3 separate regions of the Homo sapiens genome follow, and all the other regions are linked to region 1. The links are contacts of gene promoters, found by promoter capture Hi-C in blood cells and fetal thymus (Javierre and others, 2016). All regions are on one chromosome and are shown on one strand. The core of a region is centred on a gene start or on the middle of the fragment in contact, and the rest is flanking DNA. Distances in the headings are between cores, read along the strand shown. Region 1 holds the start of TPMT (thiopurine S-methyltransferase). Region 2 holds the start of GMDS (GDP-mannose 4,6-dehydratase). Region 3 holds the start of RPP40 (ribonuclease P/MRP subunit p40).

The links. Contacts are between HindIII fragments. The CHiCAGO score rates a contact against its expected background, and 5 or more counts as called.
Region 2: the fragment with the promoter of GMDS here is called in contact with the fragment with the promoter of TPMT in region 1 in 1 of 17 cell types (non-activated CD4 T cells); the score reaches 6.2 in non-activated CD4 T cells.
Region 3: a contact is called between the fragment with the promoter of RPP40 here and the fragment with the promoter of TPMT in region 1, in 4 of 17 cell types (total CD8 T cells, naive CD8 T cells, total CD4 T cells and 1 more). The highest score is 10.6, in total CD8 T cells.

What each region holds. Positions count from the first base shown.
Region 1 is chr6:18,152,852-18,156,892 of GRCh38, forward strand. It overlaps TPMT (thiopurine S-methyltransferase), which reads right to left and starts at 2,226. Exons shown (of 9, transcript NM_000367.5): 1 at 2,182-2,226. It overlaps KDM1B (lysine demethylase 1B), which reads left to right and starts at 2,571. Exons shown (of 22, transcript NM_001364614.2): 1 at 2,571-2,720; 2 at 3,032-3,075. RefSeq lists a silencer at 2,272-2,831 and an enhancer at 3,272-3,511. The HindIII fragment of the contact is 1,618 bases long and covers 1,494-3,111 here.
Region 2 is chr6:2,242,814-2,246,854 of GRCh38, forward strand. GMDS (GDP-mannose 4,6-dehydratase) reads right to left here and starts at 2,792. Exons shown (of 11, transcript NM_001500.4): 1 at 2,508-2,792. The coding sequence starts at 2,609. It overlaps GMDS-DT (GMDS divergent transcript), which reads left to right and starts at 2,940. Exons shown (of 7, transcript NR_046229.1): 1 at 2,940-3,117. RefSeq lists an enhancer at 2,434-2,934 and a silencer at 2,435-3,064. The HindIII fragment of the contact is 5,746 bases long and covers 1-4,041 here.
Region 3 is chr6:5,002,368-5,006,408 of GRCh38, forward strand. It overlaps RPP40 (ribonuclease P/MRP subunit p40), which reads right to left and starts at 1,670. Exons shown (of 8, transcript NM_006638.4): 1 at 1,513-1,670. The coding sequence starts at 1,635. LYRM4-AS1 (LYRM4 antisense RNA 1) reads left to right here and starts at 1,449. Exons shown (of 4, transcript NR_126015.1): 1 at 1,449-1,592. RefSeq lists silencers at 1,271-1,520, 1,651-1,780. The HindIII fragment of the contact is 5,117 bases long and covers 1-3,738 here.

The DNA of each region.
Region 1 (4,041 bases), core at 976-3,475:
CCTGATGCTGCCCCTCCTTTTGTGCCTGATAAGAGATCACAGACCACAGAATGGTTCTGGCCAGTCTACTGAGAATGCACAGTAAGGGTTTTTCTGTCCTCTGCTTCACCTTTTGATATAAGAGGGCCAAAAACTCCATCCTGTGATTGTGGTAACACCGCCATTTTTTGTGCATGGTACCCATGAAGCTCAATTACTCATGGGTACTTTCCTCCTTTCATAAATATTCATGAGTCATCCTACAGCTTACTGAATATGTATATTTGGCCACCTTCCTCAGCATAAATTCCTGTTCCCTTTGCCCCTCCCTGGAAGTGTCAGTTTCTGGCTTCTGGCCTGCGGCTACACTTCTCAGCCAGTCAGAATGGCTGCTCTACAGTCTGAAACCATTCATGAGAAAGAGTTCTCCTTTCTAAATTATGAACTTCTCATTCTTCAGCTGACAGACCATAACTGCAGATCCATCTGAATGTATGAGGAAAATGCCTTTCCTTTCAATGTCAACTCTGCAATATTAAGGACAATATAACACCATTATTCTAACATTCCCTTTAAATCATTAGTGAAACTAGTTTGGATTATACTAGCATGCTATTATTGGTGGTTCTAATTTAATGATTAATCTGTGAAATAGCAAACATTGCATAAAAGCATGTATTTCAGGCAAATTTCCCCTTTTGTTGCCAAATTTGGCCTCAGTATGCTTAGGATATAGGGAGGAGGCATTTCTCTCATTACCTGGGAACATGAATTCACTTCTTAGCAAATATTTGTTGACAAATGGCTTCTGCAAGACCCTGATGGTATCAGGAGGTGACTCTGAGTTTTCTGAGAGGTCAGTAGAAAGTATCTGATTTATATTGGGTACAGAAAAGCAAAAGAATGTTGCAGTTTTCTCATTTTCATTCAGAAACTCTGGAACCTAAATTCAAGGCTTCATAAAGCAGTTCTCTACTTAAAAGAGAAGCATAATCTTTATCAGAGTTCCACAGCAGCCTGGAGTAGCACAACTCTATTCCTTTCACACAAACTTGAACTGTCTAACAAAATCATGCACATAACTTAATCATGTCTTAGTTGTTTGTTTTTGAGACAGGGTCTCTCTCTATCCCCCAGGCTGGAGTGCAGTGGTGTAATGACACTTCCGTCTCCAACACTGGGGCTCAAGCGATCCTCTCACTTCAACCTCCTGAGTACCTGGGACTATAAGGGTGCACCACCATGCCTGGCTAATTTTTAAATATTTTGTAGAGACAGGGTCTTGCTATGTTACCCAGGCTGGTCTCAAACTCCTGGGCTCAACGTCTTAGCTGTTCTAACAGTTTCTCAGCATGGACTCCACTTGTATACATCATTTCTAGAGAAATAAAGTTTATTTCTATAATACAAAAAAAGTGCACATTACAAGAATTAAGGAAGGGAAATTTCACAAAAATTTCTGCCCACAAACAAAGTCCTCAAGTTGTTCTAGTCTCCATTCTCACCTTTTCAAAAGCTTCTGCTATAGTTTTGTTTTTAAATTTCATAAAATTGAGAAGAAACTTTCCTAAGGTGCACACATCTTAAAAGAGTATGACTCGGTGAATTTTTTACATATACATACACCTGTGTAACCACCGCAGAGCAAGACAGAATATTTACAGCACCCCAGTTTCCCACATCACCAGGGATCACTCACTATTTGGCAGTACTTATTTTTTCCCAAAAATCACTAATACACCAGGCTGGGGAAAAAACCGAGAGTCCGTTTCTATAAAAAAAAATTTGAAAAATTAGCCAAGCGTGGTGCAGCGAGCCTGTAGTCCCAGTTACCGAGGAGGCTGGGGCGGGAAGATCACTTGAGCCCAGGAGTTCCAGGTTACAGTGAGCTATGATTGTGCCACTGCACGCTAGCATGGGCGACAGAGGGAGACCCTGTCTCTAAAAGAAAAAAGAAAAAAAAATAATTAAAACACACCAGTGCTTTGGAAGCACTTTAAATCCTGGACATTGGATTCAGGTCATTTACTGTCCGACCTCGTTATTCCCAGTTTCCGCTTCTGCCCTGAACCCCACTTCACAGGGCTGATTGCTAGGCTGTCTACGCTTGTAAGAATTCCTGGGAGCCCTAGCACGGGCGCATACACTCCTAGCAAATCGTTCCCTTTCTCACCCGCACCCTCCGCGCCCGAGTGAGCCTACCTCGCTTACAGCTGGTTGCCGGCCATTGCCTCCGCCACCAATGACGTCCCCAGGGGCGGGTACGCCTCCGCTTCCACCTCCGCCACTTCTCCGCGCCCCGCCTCCGCCCGCGCCCCGCCTCCGCCCGCGCCCCGCCTCCGCCCGCGCCCCGCCTCTTTCCCGCGCCCCGCCTCTTTCCCGCGCCCCGCCTCAGTTCCCGCCCCCTCTCCCGGCGCCCCGTCTCCACTCCCGCCCCGTACCTCGTTGCACAGACTCCACCCACTTCCCCAAGCGCCGGGGTTTGCGCAGCGGCGGAAATGGGCAGGGCGGAGCGAGCGCTGCGGCTAAAGCGAAGGCGGGGACCCTACCCATCCCTAGTCCTGTCGGCTCCTCCCACCCCGGGTCACGCCGTGACAGGGGCGGAAGCGGCGGCGGCGGCGGCGGCCGAGAAGAGGCTGGGGCTCGCGGCGCGGCTGCAGCCGTCCTGTGCGCGCGGCGCGCGGCTCCGGAGAGGCGCCCGCAGTCCAGGGCGGCGCGCACCGCCTCGCTGGCGCTCAGAGGTGGGAGGCTCCCCACTCCGGGGGCGTGCGTGGGGGCCGTGGCGGATTTCGGGTGACAGCGTTGCACAAAGCAGCTTGGTTGGGGTGCAAGCCCTCCCTTTCCCCCTGTGCAGCGCCCCTCGCCGTGGTGGGAGGTGGGCGGGTGCCCCAGGGACGGATACCTCCTGCCCCGGATTAAAAGAGGGTGCGGGGTGGGTATCTGTCTGAAGAAGGGGGAATTCCCGGGCTAGGGTGTTGGGGCGTGGGGTCGCCGGGTTCGTCGCGATGTTGCCGGTCGGCTAACCCCCCTACAATGTTTCCTTTCTGTACAGCGGTGCCTTTTCCCCGAGACTCCCGGCACCTCTTCAGCGCAAAGGTGAGCCCCGGGGCAGTTGCTTCTCCGACTTCGAAAAGCTTCCGAAAGCTTCTCGGAAAGCGAGGCGGCTGCAGCTGGCACCGGGAGTTTGGGGCTCCCTCCTGGGGACTGTCAGAGCCGCGGGAGAACCCCACGGTCCTGGAGTAGGAACTCCCTCGCTTGTTCTTCCCGGCCGATAGGGTGCGGCCAGGAGCCCGCACAGCCTTGCAGGTGTTGTAGTAATTCTCTGGCACAGCCACCACGCGTTGAGACTTGATGAGCATTGCCAGGTTGCTGGGGTAACTCCTCTGGGATTGGAGACCTGGAGGAGGGGTGGCCCGATTAGGGTAGCTGTTAGTCAACGGCCGGGCAGCTGACAGGTGAAAGAGGAAGGAAGAGGCCGACCCAGCTGTAGAAAGTTGGGGTTCAGTGATGTGGAAACCAGCCACATAGAAGTCCAGTCTTCCCTTGGGTAAGCCTGCAGGACTCCCCAGTCCACTCCAGTTGGGGAATCCCCCACACCACGTATACACACATAACTCAAGGCTTTGACCAGTTTTGTTTTGTGTTTTTAAATCTATTTTAGTGGCAGAAAGGCGAGTGGGAGAGAAGGCTTCTTCAGGAGGTACATGAGAAAATTACCATCAATAATTATTTGCCTTGCTGGGAGAATCAACAAAAGATATCTAGGCAATTGGGGATTTAATATTGAATCATTGAACTGCATGTTGAATATTGAATAATTCAATATTGAATTATTCAATATTGGGAGGCCGAGGTGGGCGATCACTTGAGGTCAGGAGTACTTCAAGACCAGCCTGGCCAAGGTGGTGAAACCTGGTCTCTACTAAAAATACAAAAATTAGCCGGACGTGGTGGCACACACCTGTAATCCCAGCTACTCGGGAGGCTGAGGCAGAAGAATCGCTTGAACCCAGGAGGTGGATGTTGTAGTGAGCCGAGATCGCACCACTGTACTCCAGCCTG
Region 2 (4,041 bases), core at 1,542-4,041, about 16 Mb before region 1:
TATACAAAATGCTTAGCAGAGTGAATAGCTCAGTAAGTTCTCAGCCAATATTATTAAGAAAACATACAATAAGGTATGGATTTTCAGACCCCTTGCATTAACACCACAGTGCTCCAGAGATCCTTGATACTCAAGTTGGGAGTCACTGTCCTGGAATACAAATAAAAAACATAAAAGAGCAGTAAATTCCATCTGCAAGTGTTTATGTGGTAGCTACAGAATTCAGCACTATGCTAGGGGTACAGAAGCCAATGCAACACCAAATGAGGAGACAATGCAGAGGGCAGATGCCGGAGGGAAGAAAGAAACACTGGGGCAGAGATTCAACCCAACCTGAAAGCCATGCAGGTGTTTTAAGTTGGAAATGAAATGAGGAACCAAAAAATTCCAGTCAGGGAGTGGTCTGCTGAGTGTGGTGCTTCAGGTAGACTCCCATGACAGGCTGCAGGACAAACTAGAGTGGGGGCCCACTTCCATACCTTCCTGGCCACTCAGTTCCAGCCAAATGACTGCTCTTAAAAGTCAAAATTAGGTTCCATTTCTAATCTGCACTGATTCATACTGCTGGTCGTGTAAATTGGTATAGGCCACACCAACACAGCACATTAGTTAAGATGTTAATCTTAACTAATTTCCGGACAATACTAAAATAAAATCTCTACTTTCCAGAGATTAGGTAAACTTGGTAAACATTTGAGCTTCAGGTCCAGTCTGACAAAATGGAAAAAAGGGAATCATCTGCAGAAAGGTCCCAGCATTAGAAAACAAAGAGAAGGGGGAGGACAGTATGTAGGCCCTGACCTGTCTTACTGCCTCAATTCAAGGATTCAATTTCTCAACCTCAGATCCTTGCCCTCTTACTAGTTTTCAAACTCAGATCCACCTCTTACTAGTTTTCAAACTCTTGTCTATTATGATTACCTTAAGCAAAGCAAGATGCATGAATAACCAGCAGTAAATCAGGTATTCAATACTTGAAATTGTGTAATATTCTGTGACTGTGCATCTGGCCAATTTCAACTTCTCCTTCTTTTTTTTTTTTTTTTTTTTTTTTTTTTTTTTTGAGGCAGGATCTCACTCTCTTGCCCCAGGCTGGAGTACAGTGGTACCATCATTGCTCACTGCAGCAGCCTCAGACTCCCGGACTCAAGTGATCCTCCTGCCTCAGCCTCCTGAGTAGCTAGCACTACAGGTGAGCACCAACATGCCTGCCTCATTTTTTAAATTTTTTTGTAGAGACAACGTCTCAATATGTTGCCCAGGCTGGTCTCAAACTCCTGGCCTCACCTCGAGCAATCCTTCCACCTCTGCACACCGAAGTGCTGAGATTTCAAGTATGAGCCGCTGCCTCCTGCCCACTTAGCCCTTTCTAACACTAGAGAACTTTGAGAGTGGTTTCAATACCAACTGGACACTTCCCAGCGGTTTAACCTCAGGCAAATCAAACTCCCATGCCTCAGTTTCCACATATATAGAGATAATAAAAGTACCTCCTCAAAGAGTTTGTTATGAGAACTAAATGAGTTAATGTTAGGCAAGCGACTGGAACATGATAGACACAATATGTATTAGCCATTATCACCTTTATCTCAGTGTTATATTGGCCACCACCCAGAGATACCCAGGAGCACACACATCACATTCTTTCTACAGCAATATGTGGGCACGATTACTTCATGACCACTGAATCTAAAACAGCACAGCTTGGTAAGACACAGCGGTCGGATCCCACCTACTGCAACACCTCTAAGAGGCGACCCTCACAAACCAGCCATGCTTAGCCTGAGACATTCCGAAGACCTCCTCTTGATTACCTTACTCGACGAACTTATTCCTTTGAAAATGGAACTAGCCGCACTTTTGGACCAGTGTGCCTCGGATACACTTCCAAATGTGTCAACCTGAATCTCAGAAGTTGGCGTGATTTTAAAAAGTTTTTTAAGTTCTTTTTCCTAAACATGTCCTAGTAGGTGACTCCACAGCATTACTTTCTTTCATGTTCTCTTTTCTATCTGGAAATCCGGTGATAGGGGACGAAACCAGCAAAGCACCCTTTTTCTTGCTTCCCAAACGTTAGCAGGTAAGCGCCCCTTGAGCCGAGACACATCAAGAAGACCTCACCCGCAAGTTCATTGATCACCGGTTCTTTTCCCTTTCCGGCACTAGGAGCTGCGAAGCACGACATGGGCTTGGAGGAAGAGACGCTGCGGTCACCTGAGGGGCAGGTGAGAGCGGGCGGTCCTGCCCGGGTGTGAGCGCGACATCCCGCGCGGCACACACGCTCACAGCCCCCAGAGAAAGACCAGAGGCGCTCGATGTATCCCGCACACCCCACACGCAACACACTAACTGCACCGTACCTTCCGTCCCACCTCCCGGCAGCAGACCCCTTCCGGGACGCCGAGAGGGCTGTTCCTGGAGAGACCGCAGCCCACGAGTAGCGGCGCGTAGGGAGAGCACGCGTGCCCAGGCTGCCTCGGCCGGCGCGCCCCCGCCCCCGCACTCACCTGGCCTGTGATACCGGTGATGAGCGCCACGTTCCTGGGCTTGCCCATCTCGCCGTCCCCGGAGCCCCGGGCGCTGGGGCAGCGTGCCGGTGCGTGTGCCATGTCCCGCGGCGGGCGTGCGGTCGGCGGCAGGGCGGAGCGCGGCAGAGGGCAGGCGCGGTGCCGGCAGGAACGCGGGGGTGTGCAGCACGAAGCGCCTCTCCAGGCTGCGGGCAGGGAGGGAGAGCGCACCGCGCGACCGGCCGCCACAGTCTGACAGGGGCGCACGGGAGGCCGTGCAGGGAGGGCCGGGGGCGGGCCGAGCCGGCCAAGGCGGGCCCGACGGGCCAAGCAGCGGGGCTGCGGCCTGACTGGCGCAGCGTCATTCGCGTCAGCCGGCGACGCTGTAGCAGGCCCCGCCCCTCCGCCGACGGCCACCGCGCGGGAGGGGCGGGGCCTGCCGCCGCCACCGCCTCAGGGAAGAGGAAGGAGGCCGCGGCTTCGCGTCCCGCCTCTCGCCTGGCTGGCCGTGGGGGGCCTGGACGCAGTGGCCTCCCGAATCTCCCAGGACCCTAATATCGCCCGAGGATGCTGGGAGGAACGCTGAGCCGACCTCTCCGTTAGGCTGAAGGTCTGAATTTTCAAACCCAGGGGTCACAGGGCCGGGGTCATGGACTTTGATAAATAATTCCTGGAAACCTGTTGCAGTGCCCTTTGAGAAGCCCGGTTTATGGTACCTGAAGGGCAGTAGCGTACAAGGCCCGTAAACGGGGGTCACAGATGTGGGAGTGACTAACTAGGCTGGCTCTCGCTCTTCTGGCCTTTCCTGAGGCTCGGAACCAGTAACGAGGTTCCAAATAGCTGAATTCAAAGTTTTCTCTTCTGAGGACTGCCAGTGCACAAGAAAGTCCCTAGCCCCACCCGTATGCGGCATAAGGAAATGTTGAAAAGACTGCCCGGGTCAATAAACCTGGACGTGGCAGATTTCAAAGAAAGTAATTCAAACACAGGTGGGGTCCCGGCTTACATCTGTTGGATTTGGCTGCCATTTGGCAGCTGCTCGTTGGACAGGGAGAGGAGAGGAGGTGACTCAGAGCCGGGAGGGCAGCAGGTGTGTGTGCCTAAGCAGTTGGCTGCAATCCAGGACACAGACGGAAACTTCCCGGTCTCCGTTGCTCTGCTTCTCTGTCCACATTCCTCTCCCTAATCGATAACTTCAGATCATCATTTCAAATCACAGAGTTACTAGGGCTGTGCCCAATATAACGTGCAAGAGTATGTATAGCAGACCTGGAACCCCAAAATCAGAAAAGCTCAGGATTACATTTAAAACCTCCCTCTCGCGCTCCTCGAGGTCCGTTAGGAATATTTCTTAGCTATAGATAGACTGGTCTGGTTTCACACCTGGCCTCTCCTCTGCGTTCTATGAGGAGAATGGCTCAACAAACATCTGATGGTGCCTCTGAGTGATGAAGAGACCCTGAAGCTGAGGAGAGGGAACACTTCCATTGAGAGGAACATGCTATAAGCTAGAAATGTCTGTGAAATATACGGG
Region 3 (4,041 bases), core at 420-2,919, about 13 Mb before region 1:
CACGGGCAACAAAACTCTTATGTTAACTTACCTATCTCAGGCAAAGAGAAATCTGACTACTTAAGTTTTTCATTTCTGCATTCAAACGTACAGTACAGGAAGGGGATTGAACAGAATACTTTTAATGGAAAACTCGTGCTTGCATTTAATCTTTTGCAAATTAGCAATGCTGTATATTTTATGTCCTGTTCCTTTCACTATTTTATTTTCAAGGAAATATAGTATAATTGAATATCCCTTGATTTGTTTACCCTGGTGTTATCCTGGAATGAAACAAACTATCTGTCGGGGCATAAGGAATTAATTTATGGACATCCAATTACTAAGAATCTATGTGCAAGCAATGGTGCTCCTGTATGTTTTCATTTTCGAGACAGAAAAATGCAACAGGCGAGTTAAAGTATACATCCCTGACTGCTGTGATGAGCTTGACATCCAAAATAGGTGTTAAAAACAGGGCAGGCTTCAAATGTTGCCACATTGTAAAAGTCATCACTGTCCCAAGGCTCAAACACCAGCCTGTTCTGACTGATCAGGTCACCACTTAACATCTCTGAAACACTGCTCAGTCAAACCTGAGTTATTAAGCTGATCCATTTAAAGTGTAAAATGTTTAATCCCCCATGATAAGGTTAGTTTCTTGAAGTCTCTCAGATATCAAATTAGTTCCAACAACCAATTTAGAAAATCAGTCGCTTCGGCCGGGCGCGGTGGCTCACGCCTGTAATCCCAGCACTTTGGGAGGCCGAGACGGGCGGATCACGAGGTCAGGAGATCGAGACCATCCTGGCTAACACGGTGAAACCTCGTCTCTACTAAAAATACAAAAATTAGCCGGGCGTGGTGGCGCGCGCCTGTAGACCCAGCTACACGGGAGGCTGAGGCAGGAGAATGGCGTGAACCCGGGAGGCGGAGCCTGCAGTGAGCCGAGATCGCGCCACTGCACTCCAGCCTGGGCGACAGAGCGAAACTCCGTCTAAAAAAAAAAAAAAAAAAAAAAGGAAAATCAGTCGCTTCCTGGGCCGAGCCTAGGCAGGATGCTCTGGTGAGATCCACAGGTACGCAGGTGGGAGAGGGATTCAAGCTGGGGAGGAGGCAGTGGTGGGGAGGAGGCGCGAGACCCGCCCTGATTTGGGGAAAAAGCGAGGTGCACGTGGCTGCCCCACAGCCTAACTCCCTGGTCCCGGCCCTGAACCTCGAATCCCTCCCTGGACTCACTCCCAGTTCGGCGGGTTGACACGAGTGAGCAGCCAGAACGCCCCTGACAACAGCTCCCTCCAGACTGGGTACCGCCCCCACGCCCGGCGCATCCTGGGAGTTGTAGTCCTGTAGCCCTGCAAGCCACTGGCTTAGAGCAGTTAAGAGACTACAACTCCCAGCAAGCCGGGCGAGGGCCCCGCCCCTCCGCGTACCGCCGGCGGCCCCGCCCCGCGAAGCCTAGCACTCTCCCCAAACCTCTCTCGCACGCGGGGACTGAGCACGGCCCGAAAAGCCGAGGACAGCCGGACTCACCCTGTAGTTATAGTAGTGCGTCTGCACAAGATGCCGGTGGCGCGACTTGTGGTTGCCGAAGTTGGATTTCTCGCAAACCAGTAAGTGCCGCGGCGCCTCCCGAAGCCGGCGCAGCGTGGCCATGCTCTCCTGGGTTCCTGGTCCTCCCGGCCTCCGCTGGCGGGGCACGCCCCGCCCCTTCCTCCCGCCCCGCCCCTTCCCTCCGGCCGCATACCCGCTGCTGTGCGCCCCTGGCGGCGGTGGAGTGGGGATGGCGGCGCTGGATTTCTGAGCAGTTCTTAGACTTCTTAGGAGCCCACGCAGCCGCTCTTTGGTGGATGTCTGAAGCTGTAAATTCACTGTCCCAGTGGCTGGGAACCTGGCTCTTGCCTTTTCAACGCCACTTTTCCTCCGTCCCCGCCATCCCTTGGAATTGCCCTAAACCCTCTCTGTGGGCCCCGCCTCGGAGCGCCCCTTGGACCCCAGCCTGGCGCCGGCGCATACCTCGGTCAGGCCCCTCAGAGGGACCGCTTCCTGCCACCGTTATAAAAGGAAAACATCGCATGGAAAGGCCCAGTTCCTTTAGTATATGGTCAAGAAATGTAGCCGCACAGTTAAGTAACCCCCTAAGCTGCTTTGGGGGCCACACCCAGCTGCTTTCTGACTTCTCACACTGTTTGGTTCACAGGACTCTGTTACCCATTGGGGACCTCTTGGCCATTATTAACACAGGCCAACAGGACTAAAAGTTTGTATCAGTCCTTCCCAAAACATTAGGGAAGGTTGTGCGGGAAGGTAAAGCACAATTTTTGCCTTACAATAGGACTCCTTTGAAACTACTATTGAGTTCCCTTTTAAATAGCCCTTCAGAACCGCTTTTAATAATGTGTTGTTTCTGGGGGTTAATAGTGATAATTCTCCTAAGTCATTTTTCCATTTCGTTTTTCTGTCACGGGCTTGGAGCGGTTAAGAGACTGCGGCTCCCAGCATGCGGTACGTTACTGATCAGGGCAAAATCAAGTATGTTACTACATGCTTCTCAAACTAGAGAGGCACAGCCCCAATTCTGCACTGGCAGGATACAAAACAGCAGAATATTGGTGATACATCTTCCTGGAACATCAGTTTTTCTATGAGATGTGGAAGAAATGGAATTAAGTAGTTTACAAGGTAAATAATTAAGAATTTAAAACTAAGCCAGTCACAGTGGGTCATGCCTGTAATCCCAGCACTTTGGGAGGCTGAGGTGGGAGGATCACTTGAGCTTAGGAGTTCAAGACCAGCCTGGGCAATATAGTGAGACCCCATCTCCAAAAATAAAAATAAAACTAAGACAAGGCTGGAAAGTCATCTGCCATTATAAACATCAGTAATCTGGCCGAGCACAGTGGCTCACGCCTGTAGTCCCAGCACTTTGGGAGGCTGAGGTGGGAGGATCACTTGAACTCAGAAGTTCACGACCACCCTGGACAATATAGTAAGACCCCATCTCAAAAAAAAAAATTAAAACTAAGACAAGGCCGGAAAGTCATCTGCCACTAAAAACATCGGTAATCTGGCTGAGTGCTGTGGCTCACGCCTGTAGTCCCAGCAATTTGGGAGGCCGAGGCGAGCAGATCGCCTGAGGTCAGGAGTTCAAGACCACCCTGGCCAACATGGTGAAACGCTTTCTACTAAAAATACAAAAATTAACAGGGTGTGGTGGCGCATGCCTGTAATCCCAGCTACTCAAGAGGCTGAGGCAGAAGAATCACTCGAACCTGGGAGGCAGAGGTTGCAGTGAGTCAAGATCTCGCCACTGCACTTCTAGGCTGGGCGACAGAGTGAGACTCTGTCTCAAAAAAAAAAAAAAAGTCAAAATGTAATCTATGACTGAAATGTCACATTTTCTTTCCAAGGAAAAACCTAATGAGAACCTGTTTCCCATTATTTTAAACAGCAGAATTATAAGGCGTGGCAAGTTAATTAAAAAAAACCCTACTAATTTCCTAGATCACAATATGGCAGCTAGATGTTTTATAAATAACAGCTACTAATAACATGTTAAGATGTAAAAGGCTTAAAGCATTGCTTCTTGGTCACCTCATATTTAATGTAATTGTCACCAGACAGTTGCTTTGTGTGTGGTAGCAGTGGCCCAAGACTGAAACATCACGGATGTACCTCTCCTTTGTCGACATTCCAAAACTCCACAAAGTGACTGGTGTGATCCTGATGGTCTACCAATTGTATTTGGAAGCACCGTGAAGCTTTTCCAGCAAACCATTTAGTTTAAAATGTTGCATATTTTGAAGATGCAAAATAAATTCTATCTATGTAAATATCAGCTGAAAAATGTATTGAGAGATATAAACTGCCCTCTTCTCAAGAGAGACCCCACAGAGTCTTGCAGCTTTAAGTCCTCCTCTCTGGCTGCTGATAACCCCTAGATGTGGCGCCTCTTCCCTGAGCGGAGTATCCAGATGACTCTAGTACAAGGACTCACCCCTGACTTCTTCCCTTCTCACCCGCCATGCAATCCCACAGTAAGTCTTGTGGCCCTGCCTGCAG